Linked DNA regions of Homo sapiens: region 1 is linked to region 2. The links are contacts of gene promoters, found by promoter capture Hi-C in human tissues and cell types (Jung and others, 2019). All regions are on one chromosome and are shown on one strand. The core of a region is centred on a gene start or on the middle of the fragment in contact, and the rest is flanking DNA. Distances in the headings are between cores, read along the strand shown.

Evidence for each region. Contacts are between HindIII fragments. The study calls those that stand out against the background at their distance.
Region 1: a contact is called between the fragment with the promoter of NT5C2 here and a fragment that was not itself captured in region 2, in 2 of the 25 tissues and cell types used here (dorsolateral prefrontal cortex and hippocampus).

What each region holds. Positions count from the first base shown.
Region 1 is chr10:103,189,645-103,194,772 of GRCh38, forward strand. It overlaps NT5C2 (5'-nucleotidase, cytosolic II), which reads right to left and starts at 3,628. Exons shown (of 19, transcript NM_001351169.2): 1 at 3,592-3,628. RefSeq lists enhancers at 2,369-3,057, 3,058-3,744 and a silencer at 3,443-3,722. The HindIII fragment of the contact is 10,406 bases long and covers 456-5,128 here.
Region 2 is chr10:102,786,306-102,791,844 of GRCh38, forward strand. All of the region lies in intron 1 of WBP1L (WW domain binding protein 1 like), which reads left to right. Among named protein-coding and RNA genes, the nearest start is that of CYP17A1-AS1, 44 kb to the right of the region's middle. The HindIII fragment of the contact is 4,714 bases long and covers 511-5,224 here.

The DNA.
Region 1 (5,128 bases), core at 2,378-4,877, 400 kb after region 2:
ATAATTTTTTTAACTTTTTTCTTTTACTGTTTACTGAATTTTTTTTTTTTGAGATGCTCTGTCGCCCAAGCTGGAGTGCAGTGGCACGATATAGGCTCACTGCAACCTCTGCCTCCCAGGTTCAAGCGATTCTCGTGTCTCAGCCTCCTGAGTAGCTGGGACTACAGGTGGGCGCCATCACGCCCAGCTAATTTTTTATATTTTTAGTAGAGACGGGGTTTCACCATGTTGGCCAGGCTGGTCTCGAACTCCTGACCTCAGGTGATCCACCTGCCTCGACCTCCCAAAGTGCTGGGATTACAGGCGTGAGCCACCGCACCTGGCCGGTTTGCCGCATTAATTTTGTGGCTTTCTTTTTTTTTTTTTTTTTTTTTGAGACAGAGTTTCACTCTTGTCACCCAGGCTGGAGTGCGTGGCGCAATCTCAGCTCACTGCAACCTCCGCCTCCTGGGTTCAAGCGATTCTCCTGCCTCAGCCTCCCAAGTAGCTGGGATTACAGGCATGCGCTACCACGCCTGATTAATTTTTGTATTTTTAGTAGAGATGGGGTTTCACCATGTTGGCCAGGCTGGTCTCAAACTCCTGACCTCAGGTGGTCATTCACTCCGCTCTAATTGCAAAGAATCCATGTAGCATACTTGTAAACTGCTTACCAGAATTTCTCTTTCCAGTTTTATCTCAGACTACTGCTCTACCAAACCCTTTTAGTGAGAACAATCTATTAATCATACCCTCAATACATCCACTTCAGCATCTTCTCCCTACTCTGAAGTGTTACTGTTTTTCCTGATCCCACCAAGCTACATTAATATTCCTTCACTCTGAGCAAAAAAAACTAACATTTATAGAGAACTTAATGTGTGCCAGTATCACTTCAACTGAATTATTCTATTTAATCCACATAACTCTGTAAAATTTGTTCTATTTTTCCCTTCTCAAGGTGAGAGAAACTGAGTGAGCTTGTCTAAGGTTAACTGAGTTCCCCGAGGTTGCATGATGTTAAGTAGCAAGCCAGACTACAAAATCCGGGCCCTTAAATAAATGCAATGTCTCCTGGCTGAAAGTATGACTGCCTTTACTGCTCACGTCACTCAACATATGCCTTGTGATAGTTAGTATTTTGTGTTAAATGTCTAAAAACCTCAAAACATTACAACACTTATTCAACAAAAATTTACTAAGAGCCTGTGTGCCAGGCATTGTTGACTACCGGGGCACATTAGAGAGCATCTACTAATGAAGATTAGATGAATTCTCTAAATACATGGACATCCCAGAAATATTGGTAAGAGCAAAATCCCAAATAATATGTACACAGCAAGTGTACTAGATAAAAACCAGTCTATGTAAGTACTTTAAAAGAGCACAGTCATAACATGACAAAGTTGTGGGTTTTTGTTTTTGGGGATTTGTTGTTATTTACTATTTCACTGAATTAAGCTTTTGGTAAGAGAATTAAGCAACAGGGTCGGACGCAGTGGCTCAAGCCTGTAATCCCAGTACTTGGGAGGCCGAGGCGGGCAGATCACCTGAGGTCAGGAGTTCGAGACCAGCCTGACCAACTTGGAGAAACCCCGTCTCTACAAAATTAGCCAGGCGTGGTGGCGCATGCCTGTAATCCCAGCTACTCGGGAGGCCGAGGCAGGAGAACTGCTTGAACCCGGGAGGTGGAGGTTGCAATGAGCCAAGATCATGCCATTGCACTCCAGCCTGGCCAACAAGAGCAAAGCTCCGTCTCAAAAAAAAAAAAAAAAGAGAGAGAGAGGAAATACTTAAAAAAAAAAACCTGTGTTTTATGTACTCCTCTTTCCCCATAAAACAGGAGAAATAGCCTAGAGAAAGATTAATGAGCACCTCTGTGCCTAACATTCTATTGTAATCTGGCTTTCTTTAGGAAGATGTGATGTCTTCTGGTTAAGGGTGGCAGGTACTATAAGGGAATACTATCTATATAAATCTTCTTACAATTACAAACTTCTGAAAACTTGTAGCTGATGGTAAATTTTCATACAATGGCATCAAACCTTTGAACTGAAAGGAATCTTGCATAACATCTCCTTCAGAACCCCCCCCACTCCACCCCGCGCCCCTCCACCTTATTTTACAGATTTGTTGGTTACTAAATCCTAAAACCTTAATTCTGGGTCAATGAGAGTAATGCAGCTACCTATACTGTTGAAATGTAGTGGTTTACACTGCAATGGAAATGCACTTCAGAAATAAGTCTGTGTATGCTAGTATCAACCCTGCATGTGGAGTTTTTATTTTAATTACTAACCAGCTATGTTTTCTTGAACTTAACCTTTTTTGTTCTTTTTTTTTTTTCCACTCTCAGCTCACACCTATTTTTTTTCTCTTTTCGAACTTCACCCTTTCAGGCCTGGATGTCTTCATCTGGATAAATTCTAACCGTTGTTGAAAAGCCATGTGGTAAATATTTTTGAAACCTAAAGCCTTCTCTACGCAATAACACTAAGTTTTCATGGTAAATGACACAGTTTCAATATTCTCCCTTTCACATTATGGTCAGTAGTTTGCATTCGTTGCTTGAAGAGGCGAAATGAATAGTCTACAGACACTGGGAACCAAGTACAGCTCAATCCTGAAGAACTCATCGGCCCCTGGACGGGCGCGCACACACCCCCCTGTAATGGTGACTAGTCATTTCGGGGCGCTGTACTTCAGAGCACGACCCCCCTCAAACATCAAGGCCCTAAAGGTGAAAGCCCAGGAAAACGTCGATTCGGACAGCAGCCTCTACCTGCTGCTTTTAGAAGCTGTGGCCTGCCGGAGTCAAACCCCCAAAACGTTTTTCTTAAACTAAGGGTTCAGGCCTCAGATCGGCATCTCGCCCTCTCCGATTTCAGGAGCCCCGAAAAAAGGAGAAGAATAGGCCGCCACTGAACGGCTCAGCCCCCTGACCAGGAGCTGTCCGGATGTTTTTTGTGGCGGCTTGCAATTCGCTGTGACCTTTCCAGGAAGTGTTGCACACGGGCGTGTGGCAAACGAGCTGGCCGTTTCTCGCGGTCCTGCTAAAACGCTGTCAACCTGGCGCTCCACCAGAGGCCCCTTGGCTTCTCGGGAGGCGACCGAGGAGCTCTGGGGGCGGGGAGGCTTTTACAAGAAGCGAAAAGACGGCCTCAGGGGTGGCCGGGAACAGCCTGGAATCAGCTGGAGGACGTCAGCAGGACTGAGGAAAGGGCTACCACCAGCGTGAGGAAAGGGGGGAAGAGGGCGGAACGCGGCGAACGGCCGCGCTGGGAGGCTGAGGCGGGGTCCCAGCGAGCCGGCGGCTGGGAAACAATGGCGCGAGCGTGACGTGGGCCGGAGGCGTCGCGGCGGCGCGGAGGAAGGGGCTGCCGTGGGGCGGGGGCCGCACCGAGGGAGTTGGGAGGCGTGCGGCGTCCGCGAGCGCGCTGGCGGGGACTCGGCCTAAGGAGAGGGGCCTTGGGGCCATGGTCCCTGGGGGCCGGGGGCGGGGGCAGGCGGCGGCCGCTACCCTGGGGTCGCGTGTTCGGCCGCGCACCTCCCCACCTAGCTCCCCGTTCGCCCGCTCCTTCCCCGCCCGCCCACGGGGCCCGCCGCACTCACCGGCTCCAGCGCACCGCAACAATCCCAGCGCGCAACTGCCGCAGCCGCCTCAACGCGCGCCCTCCCCGCCCCCGCCGCCCGGCACCGCCCCGCGCCGCCCCTCTGCTCGCGCCCGGCCAGGGACCGGCGCGCTGTTCCGTCCCCCAGCTCCGCCGCAGAGTTCGGCGAAGCCGACGCTCCCTGACCGCGCTGCGTCTGTCTGTCCCGCGGGTCTGGAGATCTTCAAACGATGGAACACCGGCTTTGCCCTTCTGAGGGTCTCCATCCCTTGGCATTCTGCCTGCGCCCCTCAGCCTGGCCCTGGGCTAACCTCTCCACTGTGTCTCATTCAGAAGAAGCTTTTCCTTGGGAGGAGAGGGCATCCTTTTTCCCAGTCACAGAATGTTTTGGTCTAATGGACCTCAAGGCCCCTCATGCGTCCACACCCCCATGGCACCCTCGAATCCCCTTGATGGCTAAAAACACCAGCTTTGAAGTTTGTCAGAACGAGTTCCAGTCCCAGTACCACCACTTACAAACTGTAACCTCGGGCGAGGTACCTGACCTCCTATACCTGGTGCCCACATTTGTAGCACCAGGATAGGGAACAACAGTCCCCACATCAAAGGGTGTTGACGGGATGAAATCACACAATATAGGTGAGGCCCTCAGCAGGATCCTGGCACACAGTAAGCACTCAATAAATGTTCACCCCACCACCAGCAACTCAGCAGGAAGACTCCGCAAAAGCAGCTAGCTATTTCCAGAGGACTGAATTCCTTGGTCCGAGCAGCTCTCACCAGTGAGAAAATGTGTCTAAACTTCCACTCTCAGGGCCGAAATTCGATGCCTTGGAGCCACAGAGAACAAACGTCTAATCTCTCCTGGACCTTTGACTTTTCAGATACTTTACTTCTATCACCTCTGCCCAAGGTCTTCTCATTCCACATCAGTGTCTCCCGTTCCTTCCATTGTTCCTCCTCTGCCCTGGTTTTGAGGGTCTTTATCCCTCTCACGCAAATGGTAGATTTGACTGTGATTTCTTTAGAATACATCACCCAAGACTGAACCAAATGTTTGTGGTATCATCAGAGCAAAGCAGGACTATAGCTTCCTCCTTTTGGGACCTATCGCTTTGCACTCCTGCGATAAAGTTCTTGGCACCCATACTGTTGACTCATATTGGGCTTGCAGTCAACCAAAACCTCCGCGTCTTTTTAATAAGTGCTCCGCCAGAGCACTTCTACCCCTTCTTGTGCTTCTCAGCCAACTTCGCTTCAGGTCAGCTAAGGATAGACCTTGGGCCCCTCACCTTCTAAATTTCTCAGGATATATGGAAAAGAGGAATAGGGGTTGGAAGCTGGCATAACACAATCTTTAAACCAAGTGCATTTGAAAAAAGGCCAGGGTGGCGGGGCGTGGTAGCTCACACCTGTAATCCCATCACTTTGGGAAGCCAAGGCAGGTGGATCATTTGAGGTCAGGAGTTCAAGACCAGCCTGACCAACATGGCGAAACCCCATCTCTACTAAAAATACAAAAATTAGCTGGGCATGGT
Region 2 (5,539 bases), core at 1,618-4,117:
TTGGGACACGTTTGGGATTCTAGAAAACGAATATGAGTCTATTTCATGTTTAGAGAGCAGGAACTGTTTATTGTATGTTCTTTTTAGATCCAGGGCAGTGGTTCTCAAGCTTGAATATACATAAACATAACCAGGGGAGCATGTTTTAAAAGGCGGATTTTCAGTCCCTGCCCCTAGAGGGTCTCAGTCTATCTACATTCTTGACAAATATTTCAGATGATCTGGGGCCCATGGACCACACTTTTGGGAAACACATCCCTATTTTGTTGCATTTGTTGTCTAAGCATGTTCATTGTTATGTGGGGGCAAATTCACTTATTTATAAGATGCCCTTATTGTCCTGATTCACTGTGTTGCCCTTCCTCAGATTCTTGACTAGTGTTAGTCTTTGGGAGGGACCAGACCAGATTGTTCCAGGATGCCCTGTGGGTTGAAGTCAGTGGACCTCTATTGTCCCCACTACTACCCCTGGGACTCCCCTTTGGGGACCATGACACTGTGGGCTCATCTTGAAGCAGCAGCCATCTCTTTTGATCCTAGGCTTTTCTTACATTGGTCACAAGCTCCAGTCTTTGGCTTTACTCTTTAGGGTACTCTATAGCTAAAGCATGGGGGACTGGGTCCTCTTAAGCCCAGGGAGCTGGAGTCCAGAGCCCTTAAGGAGTAAACCACACTATCAGATCTGAGGGATGAGGCTGAACCTTATCAGAAGATTTACTGGCTTGGTTAGGGGAACCTACCCATGTAGCCCAGGCTATTTGTTCTTTTGGAAAACTACTGAATTCAGCCAAACAGCATAAAAATCCATTCCTAGTGTCCCATTGCATGCAAGACAAAGTCTTGGTTAACTTCTTAGCAGTGGCTTGCCCTTTATGGGGAAGGATGGAATTGAGTAAGCTCTTTTAGCCAAAGCTTATGGAATAATTGTCAGGTGTGGTATATACTAGAAAGGATACGAAAGTAGTACATGACAACCCCACCATCAAAGAAAGGGAGATTAGACTGGGCACAGTGGCTCCCGACTGAAATCCCAGCACTGTTGGAGGCTGAGGCAGGAGAATCACTTGAGCCCAGAGTTTGAGACCAGCCTGAGCAACGTAGTGAGATCCTGTCTCTACAACCAATAAAAAAAATTAGCTGGGTGTGGTGGCGTATGCCTGTGGTCCTAGCTAATTGGGAGGCTGAGGTGGGAGGATTGCTTGAGCCTGGGAAGTTGAGGCTGCAGTGAGCTATGATCGTGCCACTACACTCTAGCCTTGGTGACAGAGTGAGACCCTGTTTCCAGAGGGGGAAAAAAAAGAGAGGGGAGACTAGACTAACACATGGGAAGCAATAGGCCAGGACTCCTGCTGCATCATCCCCCTTCTTGAGCTTACTTTCTTCATCCTCAGCCCTTCTGTACTCTCCTTCTACCCAATTTGAAAATGTGTGCCCTTGAACAGTTCTCTTTATTTCCCTCAGGTCTTTGAACAGTCTAAAAAACCAATAGTGGTCAGGCACGGTGGCTCACGCCTGTAATCCCAGCACTTTGGGAGGCCGAGGTGGGCGGATCACCTGAGGTCAGGCGTGCGAGACCAGCCTGGCCAATATGGTGAAACCCTGTCTCTATTAATAATACAAAAAATTAGCTGGGCGTGGTGGTGCACGCCTGATGTCCCAGCTACTCGGGAGGCTGAGGCAGGAGAATCACTGGAACCTGGGAGGTGGTGGTTGCAGTGAGCCGAGATCGTGCCACTGTACTCTAGCCTGAGTGACAGAGACCCTGCCTCAGGAAAAAAAAAACAAAACCAATACTATCAGGGAGAACGTGATCTTAACTTTCTTTCTTTCTTTTTTTTTTTTTGAGACAGTCTCACTCTGTCACCCAGGCTGGAGTGCAGTGGTGCGATCTCGGCTCACTGCAACCTCTGCCTCCTGGGTTCATGCCATTCTCCTGCCTCAGCCTCCCGAGTAGCTACCACGCCCGGCTAATTTTTTGCATTTTTTAGTAGAGACGGGGTTTCACAGTGTTAGCCAGGATGGTCTTGATCTCCTGATCTCATGATCCGCCTGTTTCGGCCTCCCAAAGTGCTGGGATTACAGGCATGAGCCACCACACCTGGCTGATCTTAACTTTCTAATTGTAAAAATATAGGTAAAAATATAGGTGAATACATGAAGCTTTGCCTCCTTACCACCTACAAATATGTTTCTAAGGACCTGGGCTTGAAAGTGCTGCATTTTCAGAACTTGAAGATTCTATCTAGGATAGAACAAAAATAGCTGATTCTAAGTTAAAGTTGTTTGCTGTCTTATTTAGCCATTTCAAATGTCTGCTTTATGAAAACTGCGTTATCCTTTAGCTACAGAGCATTACCAAAATCATTTAGAACTTTTTCCTAGTAGATATGCAGTGCTAGACTTTGGTCTCCTTTCTAGAAAGCCATTCCTGGTTCAAGAATGGAAGGAAAGTTTGTTTTGTTGCTTACTCTGCAAGAGCAGCCACAACCTGGCTGGGGGGGATAAATAAAGGCTCAAGGTAAAGAATAAGTATGAGAGTTGCAAAAATATTTATATATTTATTCAAGTCTCCACCATAACCTAAGGGAGGGACTAGCCAAAGCCAACAATGAATTCATAAACTGTGGTACTTTGGAGATTATTTTATTTTATTTTATTATTTATTTTTTACTGAGACGGAGTCTTGCTCTGTTGCTCAGGCTGGAGTGCAGTGGCACAATCTCGGTTTGCTGCAACCTCCACCGCCTGGGTTCAAGTGATTCTTGTGCCTCAGCCTCCTGAGTAGCTGGGACTACAGGTGCGCACAACCACGCATGGCTAATTTTTTAAATATTTTTAATAGCGATGGGTTTTCGCCATGTTGGCCAGGCTGGTCTCGAATTCGTAACCTCAGGTGATCCACCTGCCTCAGCCTCCCAAAGTGCTGGGATTACAGGCATGAGCCACTGCACCCAGCCTGGAGATTATTTTAATTGTTATACAAAGCCTATGAGATCTGACCTCAGCTGAATTCTTAGCTCCCCTTTCACACTGCTTTCCCTGAGATCACTGTACTCAGCTACACTAGTCTTCTTTCTCTTCCTTGAGCACACCAAGCTTGTTTCTGCCCTGGTGTTTTTGCGTGGATTTGATATTTCTTCTTCCTGGAACACTGTTCTCACCGGTCTGGTTAAGCTGGCTCTTTTTCAGCAGTCAGGGCTCTACTCAGATGTCACCTACTCAGAGTGGCCTTTCCTGACCACCCTATCTAAAACTCTTTGTCTCATTATCGTGTTTTATTATCCTCATGGAGCTTATTACTGCTAGTGAAATTATAATTTTGCTTGTTAATTGTCCGTCTTCCCAACTGGAACATATTTAAAAATCTTTTTGCCTTTGTCACTCTGCAGTTTCATACAGTGTACCTAGGTGTGGGCTTCTTATTATCTGGAAATTTTGTATCTTTTTTTTTTTTTTTTTGACAGTCTCACTCTGTCACCCAGGCTGGAGTGCAGTGGCATGATCTCGGCTCACTGCAACCCCCGCCTCTCAGGTTCAAGCGATTTTCCTGCCTCAGCCTCCCGAGTAGCTGGGACTACAGGCGCCCGCCACCACGCCCAGCTAATTGTATTTTTAGTAGAGATGGGGTTTCACAGTGTTAGCCAGGATGGTCTCGATCTCCTGACCTCATGATCTGCCCAACTTGGCCTCCCAAAGTGCTGGGATTATAGGCATGAGCCACCACGCCCGGCCGAAATTTTGTATCTTTAATCAGTCTTATATAGAAAATTTTTAGTTATCCCTTTAAATATTTCCTCTCCTCCATTCTTTTCTTCTCAAGCTTCTTTCTCATTTTTCATTTCCATGTTTTCTCTTGTAGAAGCACTTTGATGGTAATTTTCTCAGATCTGTTCTCTAGTTCATCAATTTCCTCTTTAACTTGGTCTCCTCTCTGTGTGACCCATCTGTTGAGTTTTTTCTTTCAATAACTATTTTTCTACAAGTTTTATCTGCCTGTTACTATTTCTTGTTTGGTAGTGTTCTTTTCTTGTGTTTTTAATTCTTTCTTTTTGGCTTTAATCATTTGAGATATGCTTGTATCTTATAGGGACTTTTTTTCAGGGGGTCTTATCCTGCTATTTGTTGAATTTGTCATCTTGTTTGTAATGGATTAGTTTTGCATACATTTTTATATTTTGGATTGTGAGCTTATCTTCAACAGAACTTTATTTTTATTTTTATTTTTGAGACAGTCTCTCACTGTCGCCCAGGCTGGAGTACAATGGTGCAATCTCGGCTCACTGCAACCTCTGCCTCCCGGGTTCAAGCAATTCTCCTGCCTCAGCGTCCGGAGTAGCTGGGATTACAGGCGCCCGCCACCACGCCCAGCTAATTTTTTTGTATTTTTATTAGAGACAGGATTTCACTATGTTGGCCAGGCTGGTCTCGAATTCCTGACCTCGTCATCCGCCCGCCTCAGCCTCCCAAAGTCCTGGAATTACAAGCGTGAGCCACCGCGCCTGGCCAACAGAACTTTATGTGTAGGAATCCTTTGTGCCGTGGCTGAGGGTAGATCTGTTCAGTTTTGTATTTCTGCCAGATGTTGCAGGTTTATTGCCAGCCTGGGACTACTTTTTGTGTTAAATTTTTGGCTTGGGGATCCTCAGACCATGTAGTAGTACAATTCAAATCTGAAATAATCTGTGATCACACATTATTAGAGGAGATACTGTTTTCCTCCCACTTCAGAGTTTTTATTGTCACTATGTGCCAGTGGGCTAATGTTTTTTCTAATCTGTTCTCCCCCTCTGAGGGCGCCAGCTTTGTACTGGTTCTCAGTTCCAATTCCCTGTTTCAGGTGGGCCCAAGATCAACAAACTACCCCACTTTCTAGGTCAACTGGAAAGGCCTGATCTCATTTACTACTGTGGTTTCTAGTTCCCGCTGTCGTTTTTGGTCCCAGGTGATCCTCCTTGCTTTCTTGCAAGTTCAGCTTTGTAATTAAAAGTGATTGTTGTATAGCCAGGGTTTTATAGCAGAATAATTTTTAGTTACCTACCCAGCTATATTGCCAGAAGCGGAAACTCTCCCCTCCCACCCCCCGAATCTCTTGCTTATTGCTATAGCTATAGCATCCCACATAGTGCCTGGCACATGGTTGGGGGAAGGGGGTCAATACATATGTGTTAAATGATTTGGAGAACTGAACATTTCCATTAGGAATTAGTTCTTGGCCAGGCACGGTGGCTCACACCTGTAATCCCAGCACTTTGGGAGGCCGAGGTGGGAGGATCCCTTGAGCCCAGGAGTTCAAGACCAGCCTGGGCAACATGAGGAGACCCTGTCTCTATTTAAACAAACAAAAAAAGATTTAGTTCTTCCTGCAGGGAAAGCCAGAGGTGATGCTCCAAATTAATTCATATCCAGCAGCCAAGATATTTGGTGTCCTGTGCTTTAGCATCCCAGGAAGGACTTCAATTCTTATTTTTCACTCTTAAACTTTAAAGTGTTTTCCTAAGGACATGACGCTGTTGCCATTAGCCAGTTGCTAGCAGAGTTT